Regions from separate parts of the Homo sapiens genome. Here region 1 is linked to region 2. The links are contacts of gene promoters, found by promoter capture Hi-C in human tissues and cell types (Jung and others, 2019). All regions are on one chromosome and are shown on one strand. The core of a region is centred on a gene start or on the middle of the fragment in contact, and the rest is flanking DNA. Distances in the headings are between cores, read along the strand shown.

Region 1 (4,274 bases), core at 423-2,922, 580 kb before region 2:
GCCAAGGTGGGTGGATCACTTGAGATCACGAGTTCGAGACCAGCCTGGCCAACATGGTGAAACCCCGTGTCTACTAAAAATACAAAAACTAGCCAGGCGTGGTGGTGGGCACCTGTAGTCCCAGCTACTCAGGAGGCTGAGGAAGGAGAATTGCTTGAACCCAGGAGGCGGAAGTTGCAGTGAGCCAAGACAGTGCCATTGCATCCCAGCTTGGGCAACAAGAGTAAAATTCCGTCTCCAAAAACAAAAAACAAAAAATCAAAGAGAAAGTAGAATGATGGTTGTCCCCAGGGCCTGGGGGAGGGAAGAATGGCAAGTTAGTGTTTAACAGGTAGGTAGAGAATTTCAGTTTTGCAAGAGGAGAAGAGTTCTGTGGTGGATGGATGGTGGTGAAGGCTGCAAAACAACGTGAATGCACTTAACACCACAGAACTATACACTTAAAAATTATTACAACAGTCAATTTTATGTTACATATACCTTACCACAACTTAGAAAAAAAAAAGATTGTCTTGTGGCTTACAAAAAGCAAGAGAGTGCTCATCTCCTCTTCTTTCGAACATTCTTATATCTAATAGTGCATCAAAACAGCTTTTCTCGGGTTAAGACAAGAGAATAATTCTGGGGTAGTCCTCATATGGAAGGTGCTGCATAATATAGTCAACATCTAAAAAATTCCAAGTACAAACATCCAAACCCAAAATTTACAGCAAAAGAGACAGATGGAATTATTTCAACAACTGTGAGAAAGGCAAGAAATAAACAGAACTATTGGTATGTTTAAGTATCAATTTAGGACTCTATAAGCTAATTTCTAAAGAGACAAGAAAGTCCACGGAAAAAAATGATTGGTCCATGTAGAGTAGATTTCATATATCAGAGTCAAGGTCTCACAAAACAACTTTACTGTTTTGAAACTTTAAAGAAGTGTCAACTTGCATTAAATAAACAAAGCAACTGCCATGTACTAAACAAAAATGTCACAAATGACAGTCCTGTATAATGACCTGGTTTCCCAGTGGCTCAGAAAGATGGAAAATAAACCCCAAGGACCCTAGTTCAGACAGACTGAAGAGAGCAGACCGTGGCTGTCTTGCATGATTAAAGGCTATGTCACAGCTCAGTAGGGTCCATGCTTTCATAGCTTCCCCCCCCCAGCAACCCCTAATGTGACTAGGACTGGGACAAGAGTGACAGTCTCACAAAGGGGATAAAAAGACATAAAGCTTCTTCCTCATACATCCAAACACTCCAGAATCTAAAACTTCACTTCTCTGTTGTCCATCTATCCAATTTTCATTAAGAGCAATTTATATCATATAGAGGCTTCAAAGTCAAATATGCCACTTTTATTTTTACCTTATCAAACCTATAAAATCAAGACCAAGGGTTGGTCTGGATATGAAGCTTGGTTAGGATCACAATAAATTTTCAAATCAAATAATTGGTTTCAGTTAGAGCCAAGTTTATCAACAATAGGGTGATTTAGGATTCAGGAAAAATCGGCTGCCTATTTGTATTTCAGAAAGACTAGTATTTCTTCTGACACAAGTAGAGAGGTGTAAGCAACCTCTGGGTGGGTAATGCCACCAAACAAAAGCAACACCTTCAAAGTCTCTCAGTGACTAGAGGCAGCCAGACACTCAAACTGCCAGTCCTGAATTACGGCCTCTGAATGGTGAGGGCTTCACATTTCACCGATCAGGGCACAGCCCAATCAGAAGACAAACCCCTGCACTGCCAGGGACCAGCAAATCCGCTTTCTTCCAGTGTGCACATGACTAAATGTGCTTCTGTCCATCATCTGGGTCATATATAGTTCAATGCGAGCTGAGCAGACAGGGCTGCAAGGAAATCTGGCGCGGTTCAATACCTCGTCTAGCCTGGGTTCCAGTATCTAATTTTTTTTTTGTTTTAACTGACAAACTCATTTCTCTACTGGGACAGGATGCTGTGCTGGCTGGAAGTTCCATTTCTACAGCAAGAATCCTATCTGGAAACACAGAAGTTGTCCTCTAGCCACAGCAGCTCGAACTTTTTTGATTGTCGTTGCTGCTTTCTCCCATCACCCCCATCCCCTTTTGACAAAGATCCAACTGTAAAAAGTCTTACGTAACAGTTCAGGACTACTTCGGTTCTTTTACTGGGTAAGCACTTTCAATTTTTTTTTTTTAACTAAAAGCCATTTTAAAATTGAATCTGTTGAGGGGCTTGACTAAAATCTTTTAAGTAATTTGTGTAATGGAATACTGTCAGTGGATTTTTTCGTCTCATTTCTGCACGTGCTCCTTTGTTCTCAGAACAGAAGCTTTTTATACACATCCCATAACGCAGCTGGAGAGAGTTATGAAGTCAGTTATTATAAGGAACACAAAGGTTGCTTTCCATTCTTTGCCTTTAGATAATTAATTTTTTTGTTTTCTTAAAATGGAGTATTTAAAGAAGGAAGAAATTCACAAGAAATAAACTGTTGGAGAATTTAGAAAAGTTTGAAGTTTTTACCACCTTTTCTATCTCTAGTTTTGTGTGGCCAAACACTTGTGCCGCCTGGGGCGGTGGGGGTAGAGGCAAGCATAGACAGAGAGGAACTAAGCCAGACATGGACAAAGGCACGAGCCAAAACCAGACAGTCCTGGCCGTTCGATAGGCCAGCAGTGGGTGAGACAGGTCAGCCAGCTGCAGGGGCGGGAGCGGGGGGGCGGGTAGGGACATGGATGTGTGAGGTGCTCATGCGTGCGATCGTGACTAGATTCTGAAACTGCCAGCCATTTTCCCAGCTCCGCTTTGTGCAATCTAAAGGAATGCATCCCCTCTGAAGCAGTCTTGCCAGAGCCTAGTGAGGGAGAGAAGTATGGTAAATACCACAACATATGGAATCAGAAAATACCGGGAACTGGAGTGGGCAAGGGGGAATGCAGAGGGTGTGGAAATTTTTTAGTGATCTGGAATGTGTTGAGTGACAGGAAGTGCCCCAAGCTTCTCCCCCACCAACTCTTCTCAGTCGCGCCTGCTTTTGTCTAACTCTTGTAATCTACACACTACTGCTTACAAAGCTGTCTGAGTTTAAGACAAAAAGAAACCTAAAAGTCTCCTTACTTCATAGTACCTGTGATATGGAAGGAATGTAAAAGCATGACCCTTTAAGCCTATGGACATTTTTTCAGGTATACAGGAGAAAGATAAAATAATTTTCCACAGAAAAATGAGAATTATGAATTATATAGTTCAGGTTCCAAATCTAATTTTTAAAAGAATTCTGATTCTGCTACACTTTACAAATGCTTAGGTTGGTTCCTAATTTGAAGCAGACTTGTTTTATTTGGTTAATGCATTGCATTTGAACTTGTTTCTATTTTCTTTGCATAAATTTGGACTTTGGGAGAAAAATGCAAAGTAATAAGTAGAATGCACTTGGGGGAAAAAAGGAGGATTTTTCCCTTCATGGGTTGGAAAGTATTTTAAAGGGTTGTTTTCTTGAAAAAACAAGCTCTCTCTTACTTTCTGCATCTATGCTATAAAGATAACTATGCTATAATAAATGTAAGGTAGAAAACTTTAAAGAGAAAATAACAGTGTTCTAAGTGAAAAGCTACTTAGCATTTTCCCAAACTTACACATTATCAACAGAAACACTAAAAATTAAGAGAAAAGCAGCCAACTAATTAAATAGCTAGCCTTATTTTGGGGGTATGGGATAGAAAATTAAGTGTGAATAAAATGATACTTGGGAATGTTTCTCCCTCGTACCACAAAGGATGTTAGTGGTCAGCCTACGAGTTAATCCTTCCTAGCATGGCTCTGAGCCTTCATGCCGAGCAGACGTTATTCACATGACGATTCGAAAAGTCCATTCATATATCTCGCTACCTGGATTTGAATAGAAACCAGACAGCAATTCTTTAGTTCCAGCCACCATTCGCCCCACTGGACAATAGCGATTTGTTAGCACAGAGTCACAGGCTGTGGGACACAAAGCTTGGAGCTGCAGAAAGATGGGGGATTCAGAGAACAGGAAATTACAGGCTCGATGCACTCCTGGCAGCTCTGAGAATACAAAAAAAAAAAAAAAAAAAAGGCAACACAGAGATGCCATGTTTAAGAGCTACTTCTAGCTTTTTTAACCACCTCCAATGTCATAAAAGCTCTATTGTTGGAGTACATAAAGTCACGAGTCCCATGTGCTCGCTTTTCTCACTACAGGGAACTTCATTCAATGCCCTTGGCACAGTAAGAAATATCAAAAGCATCCAGAGTTGATTAGCTGTACACTCTGG
Region 2 (4,307 bases), core at 1,569-4,068:
AATAGCTAATGAGTCTTCCATCAAGCTACTGAATCACTAAGAAAGATGCTGCGATGATGACCTACCTGTATCTTGATCACCAGAGAGCACACCAGCCTGGACAGCAGCACCATACGCTACAGCTTCATCTGGGTTTATGCCACGGGATGGTTCCTTGCCATTGAAGAACTCTTTAACCAGTTGCTGAATCTTTGGAATTCGAGTCGAGCCACCAACAAGAACAATTTCATCAATATCAGACTTCTTCAAATCAGAATCTTCCAACACTTTCTGGACGGGCTTCATAGTAGACCGGAACAGATCCTAGAAAAAAGACATGGTTACTGTGATGTCTGTTATCTAAGTATCTAGATGCAATGTCCTGAATTCAGAGTCTAAGGAGATCTCATTAGCAAAGCAGAAAACAAGGAACATACCATGTTGAGCTCTTCAAATTTGGCCCGAGTCAGGGTCTCAGAAAAGTCTTCTCCTTCATAGAAGGACTCAATTTCAATTCTTGCTTGATGCTGAGAAGACAGGGCCCGTTTGGCCTTTTCTACCTCGCGCCGGAGTTTCTGCACAGCTCTATTGTCTTTCCTGACATCTTTGCCCGTCTTCTTTTTGTACAGTTTGATGAAGTGTTCCATGACACGCTGGTCAAAGTCTTCTCCACCCAGATGAGTATCTCCATTAGTGGCCACAACTTCGAAGACACCATTGTCAATGGTGAGAAGAGACACATCGAAGGTTCCGCCACCCAGGTCAAACACCAGGATGTTCTTCTCCCCCTCCCTCTTATCCAGGCCATAAGCAATAGCAGCTGCCGTACTATTAGATTGAAAAAGGGAAAAGTTTTGTCAGTACTTCACATTTCCACTATTTGGCAAATATGCCGTATCCCTGAATTTCATACTTACGGCTCGTTGATGATCCTCATAACATTTAGGCCAGCAATAGTTCCAGCGTCTTTGGTTGCTTGGCGTTGGGCATCATTAAAATAGGCTGGTACAGTAACAACTGCATGGGTAACCTAAAAGGATAAAAGATAATTAAGTGTATTGTCACATAGTTTAACCCTTATTTAAATTACAGTCTGGCCAGGCGGTGGCTTCTGCCTATAATCCCAGCACTTTGGGAGGCTGAGGCAGGAGGATCACCTGAGGGCAGGATTTCAAGACCAGCCTGGGCAATGTGGAGAAACCCTGTCTCTACTGAAAATTAAAAAAAAAAAAAAAAATTAGCCAGGTGTGGTGGTGTGCCTGTAGTTCCAGTTACTTGGGAGGCTGAGGCAGGAGAGCTGCTTGAACCCGGGAGGCAGAGGTTGCAGTGAGCTGAGATCGTGCCACTGCAGTCCAGCCTGGGCAACAGAGCAAGACTCCATCTCAAAAAAAAAAAATTACAGTCAAACCATCACTTTAGTTTTTAAGCCAACTTATTGATGAATACAACATATAAAATTTTATGTCCCTGGAATTGTAAGCATTAAATAATACATGAAAAGTCTATTTTGTTTGGCTTATAGTAAGGGACTCAATAATTAAACCTGACAAGCATGAATACCATTCTGATTAAAATTTTTGAAACCCTTCACGAAGGCTTCTATACATAACAGCCAACCGAGAATACTAATGATCAAAAAATACTTAACATTGTTCTAGAAATATTTACCTTCTTTCCCAAATAAGCCTCAGCGGTTTCTTTCATTTTAGTGAGAACCATGGCAGAAATTTCTTCAGGAGCAAATGTCTTTGTTTGCCCACCTCCAATATCAACTTGAATGTATGGTTTAGTTTTCTTTTCAACCACCTATTTTAAAGAATTATTGTTTTCAGACACAGATACAATGACATCTCAAAGTTTAAAAGACCCACTACCATCCCCACAATTTGGTTTATTTTGGTCCCTTGGGGCTGCAAATTGACTAGAAATACTTCAGGGAGTATAGGTGTCTTACAAAGTTCAGTTTTAATCGGTCTTTTATTCCTAAACTATCGTAGACAGTACGACAGCAACTGTCTTAAGTTTTGTAACATACTAATAGTATTAAAGTTATTACATACATCATGTCTATAACCTTCAACTGTTGTCTCAACACTTTTCCAGAGACTTATAACTCTAAATACTCCCACCACCCACCCGTTCTCTAACTGGATGAGAAAAACCCGGTCGAACCTTGAACGGCAAGAACTTGATGTCCTGCTGCACAGACGGGTCATTCCACGTGCGGCCGATGAGCCGCTTGGCGTCAAAGACCGTGTTCTCGGGGTTGGAGGTGAGCTGGTTCTTGGCGGCATCGCCAATCAGACGTTCCCCTTCAGGAGTGAAGGCGACATAGGACGGCGTGATGCGGTTGCCCTGATCGTTGGCGATGATCTCCACGCGGCCGTTCTTGAACACGCCGACGCTGGCAGAAAAACCCGACAGAGGGACATCAGCACCGCACTTCTCACGCCAGGCCAGGCGGCCACGCCCCGTCCCCCTGCATCCGCAACCCCACTTACCAGGAGTAGGTGGTCCCCAGGTCGATGCCGACCACCGTGCCCACGTCCTCCTTCTTGTCCTCCTCCTCGGCCCGCGCCGCGCTGAGCAGCAGCAGCATCGCGGCCACCAGGGAGAGCTTCATCTTGCCAGCCAGTTGGGCAGCAGCAGGCAGTCCAGCCACAGGCCGTAGCACAGGAGCACAGCGCAATTTCCGACTTGCAGGCGGCAGGGGCCCGGGGTCACAAGGCGCCACGAACCAGGCGAAGGGCAGGTCTAGAAATACAGGCCGCGGCGCTTCCCTCTCACACTCGCGAAACACCCCAATAGGTCAATCTGTCTGTGCTGTCTTGGCCGGCGTCGACCTCACCGTCGCCTACTCGGCTTATATACCCTCCCCCAGCCCCGTCGTGGAGGCCGCCGATTGGTGAAGGCCCTGCTCGTTGGAGGCCGTTCATTGGCCCAGGCCACCAAGCTGGCCGCCGCCGATTCGAAGCGGCCCCCTCCGCAATAAACGTCACTGCTCCGCCCCCCCCAGCTGATTCATTGGCTGCTATTCGTTTCTAACGTTCACCAATGGTAGATAACATCCGCCCCATCCGCTGGTCCCATTGGTTCAGCAGCTGTCTATCTCTCCTGCGACTTCTGACCCCGAGGCATTTCCGCTGGTAACCGCACAAGTCCCGCCTTCACTCCCGGCCCTAGGGGGTCGGAGTAGGTCCAGCAGGAGTGACCCCCCGGGGCTGTGGGATCTGAAACTTTTTCTTCTCTACTGCTTGTTCTCCCTTCCTCCATCCCTCACCCCGAAGCGGGAAGCAGCTTTCTCTTCCCAGCTTCCATCCAGTCTCTGAGTAGACCAGTCGCAGCTTAGATGCTGGGATCGCCTCAGAACACATTTCTTTGCCCTTCACGGCCACTACCGGTATTGGGGTATGCGAGTCTCAGGGCCGTTCGTTGCTCACAGGTCGAGCTGGTCTGGACTCTGTTCGACCACGAATCATGACTCCTTCCTGCCAGTTATGTCCCCTCCGCACCCTTGCCCAGCCATTTTACCAGGCCTCTCCACATTGCGCTGCCCCACGGTAAGTCGCAGGACAAGCCCGGCCAAAGGAATTGCCTCCAGCTCTGAGTCCCCTCCCTACTGTGGCAACCCACTCCAGTGCCAGCCCTCCCACACTGGATGTCTAATTTTTCTAGCTTGCCACCCTTTACTTTCCCCTCCGCTGCCCATCCTTTCCCTCTGGGGCAAAGGTTATCATTTACGGGGCTTTCTCCATCCTTTATTGTTGATACTTTTCTACCTTCATTCCAGGAAAAGGTCTGATGTACACGCAGACAACACATTTGATAGGCGAAAATCGTCTTGATAATGCCTTATTCTTATATAACATCCTGTTGCAAAAAATAATAGAGACCACTATTTGCTGAAAGCCTACCGTGGATTAAGCATTGTTCAGTGTGCTTTTCATGTGTCATTTAGTCTTGACAGTTCAATACTCGGTAGGCATTTCCCGTTTTCCAGATGAGGACATTGAAACTGAAAAAGATTAAATAACTAAACAAGTCACAGAGCTGGTGAGTGATGGAGTTAGGATTGATAACCAGGTGGAGTTCACTCTATTGCCAATACTTTTTTTTTTTTCAAGACGGAGTATCACTCTGTCACGCCCAGGCTGGAGTTCAGTAGTGCAATCTCAGCTCACTGCAACCTCCGCTTCCGGGGTTCAAGCGATTCTCCTGCCTCAGCCTCCTGAGTAGCTGGGATTACAGGCACGCACCACCATGCCTGGCTAATTTTTTTTTTTTTTTTTTTGTGGAGATGAGGTTTCACCATTTTAGCCAGGCTGGTT

What was found. Contacts are between HindIII fragments. The study calls those that stand out against the background at their distance.
Region 1: a fragment that was not itself captured here is called in contact with the fragment with the promoter of HSPA5 in region 2 in 1 of the 25 tissues and cell types used here (mesenchymal stem cells).

Annotation. Positions count from the first base shown.
Region 1 is chr9:124,656,595-124,660,868 of GRCh38, forward strand. The region is part of intron 2 of NR6A1 (nuclear receptor subfamily 6 group A member 1); the gene reads right to left. MIR181A2HG (MIR181A2 host gene) reads left to right here and starts at 1,842. Exons shown (of 2, transcript NR_038975.1): 1 at 1,842-2,147. RefSeq lists enhancers at 1,889-2,008, 2,830-2,879. The HindIII fragment of the contact is 3,606 bases long and covers 1-3,475 here.
Region 2 is chr9:125,238,525-125,242,831 of GRCh38, forward strand. It overlaps HSPA5 (heat shock protein family A (Hsp70) member 5), which reads right to left and starts at 2,819. Exons shown (of 8, transcript NM_005347.5): 1 at 2,481-2,819; 2 at 2,152-2,383; 3 at 1,648-1,785; 4 at 897-1,009; 5 at 417-807; 6 at 66-303. The coding sequence starts at 2,602. It overlaps HSPA5-DT (HSPA5 divergent transcript), which reads left to right and starts at 3,132. Exons shown (of 3, transcript NR_186826.1): 1 at 3,132-3,539. RefSeq lists enhancers at 2,228-2,307, 2,449-2,953, 2,846-3,140, 2,954-3,458, 3,108-3,417. The HindIII fragment of the contact is 17,872 bases long and covers 1-4,307 here.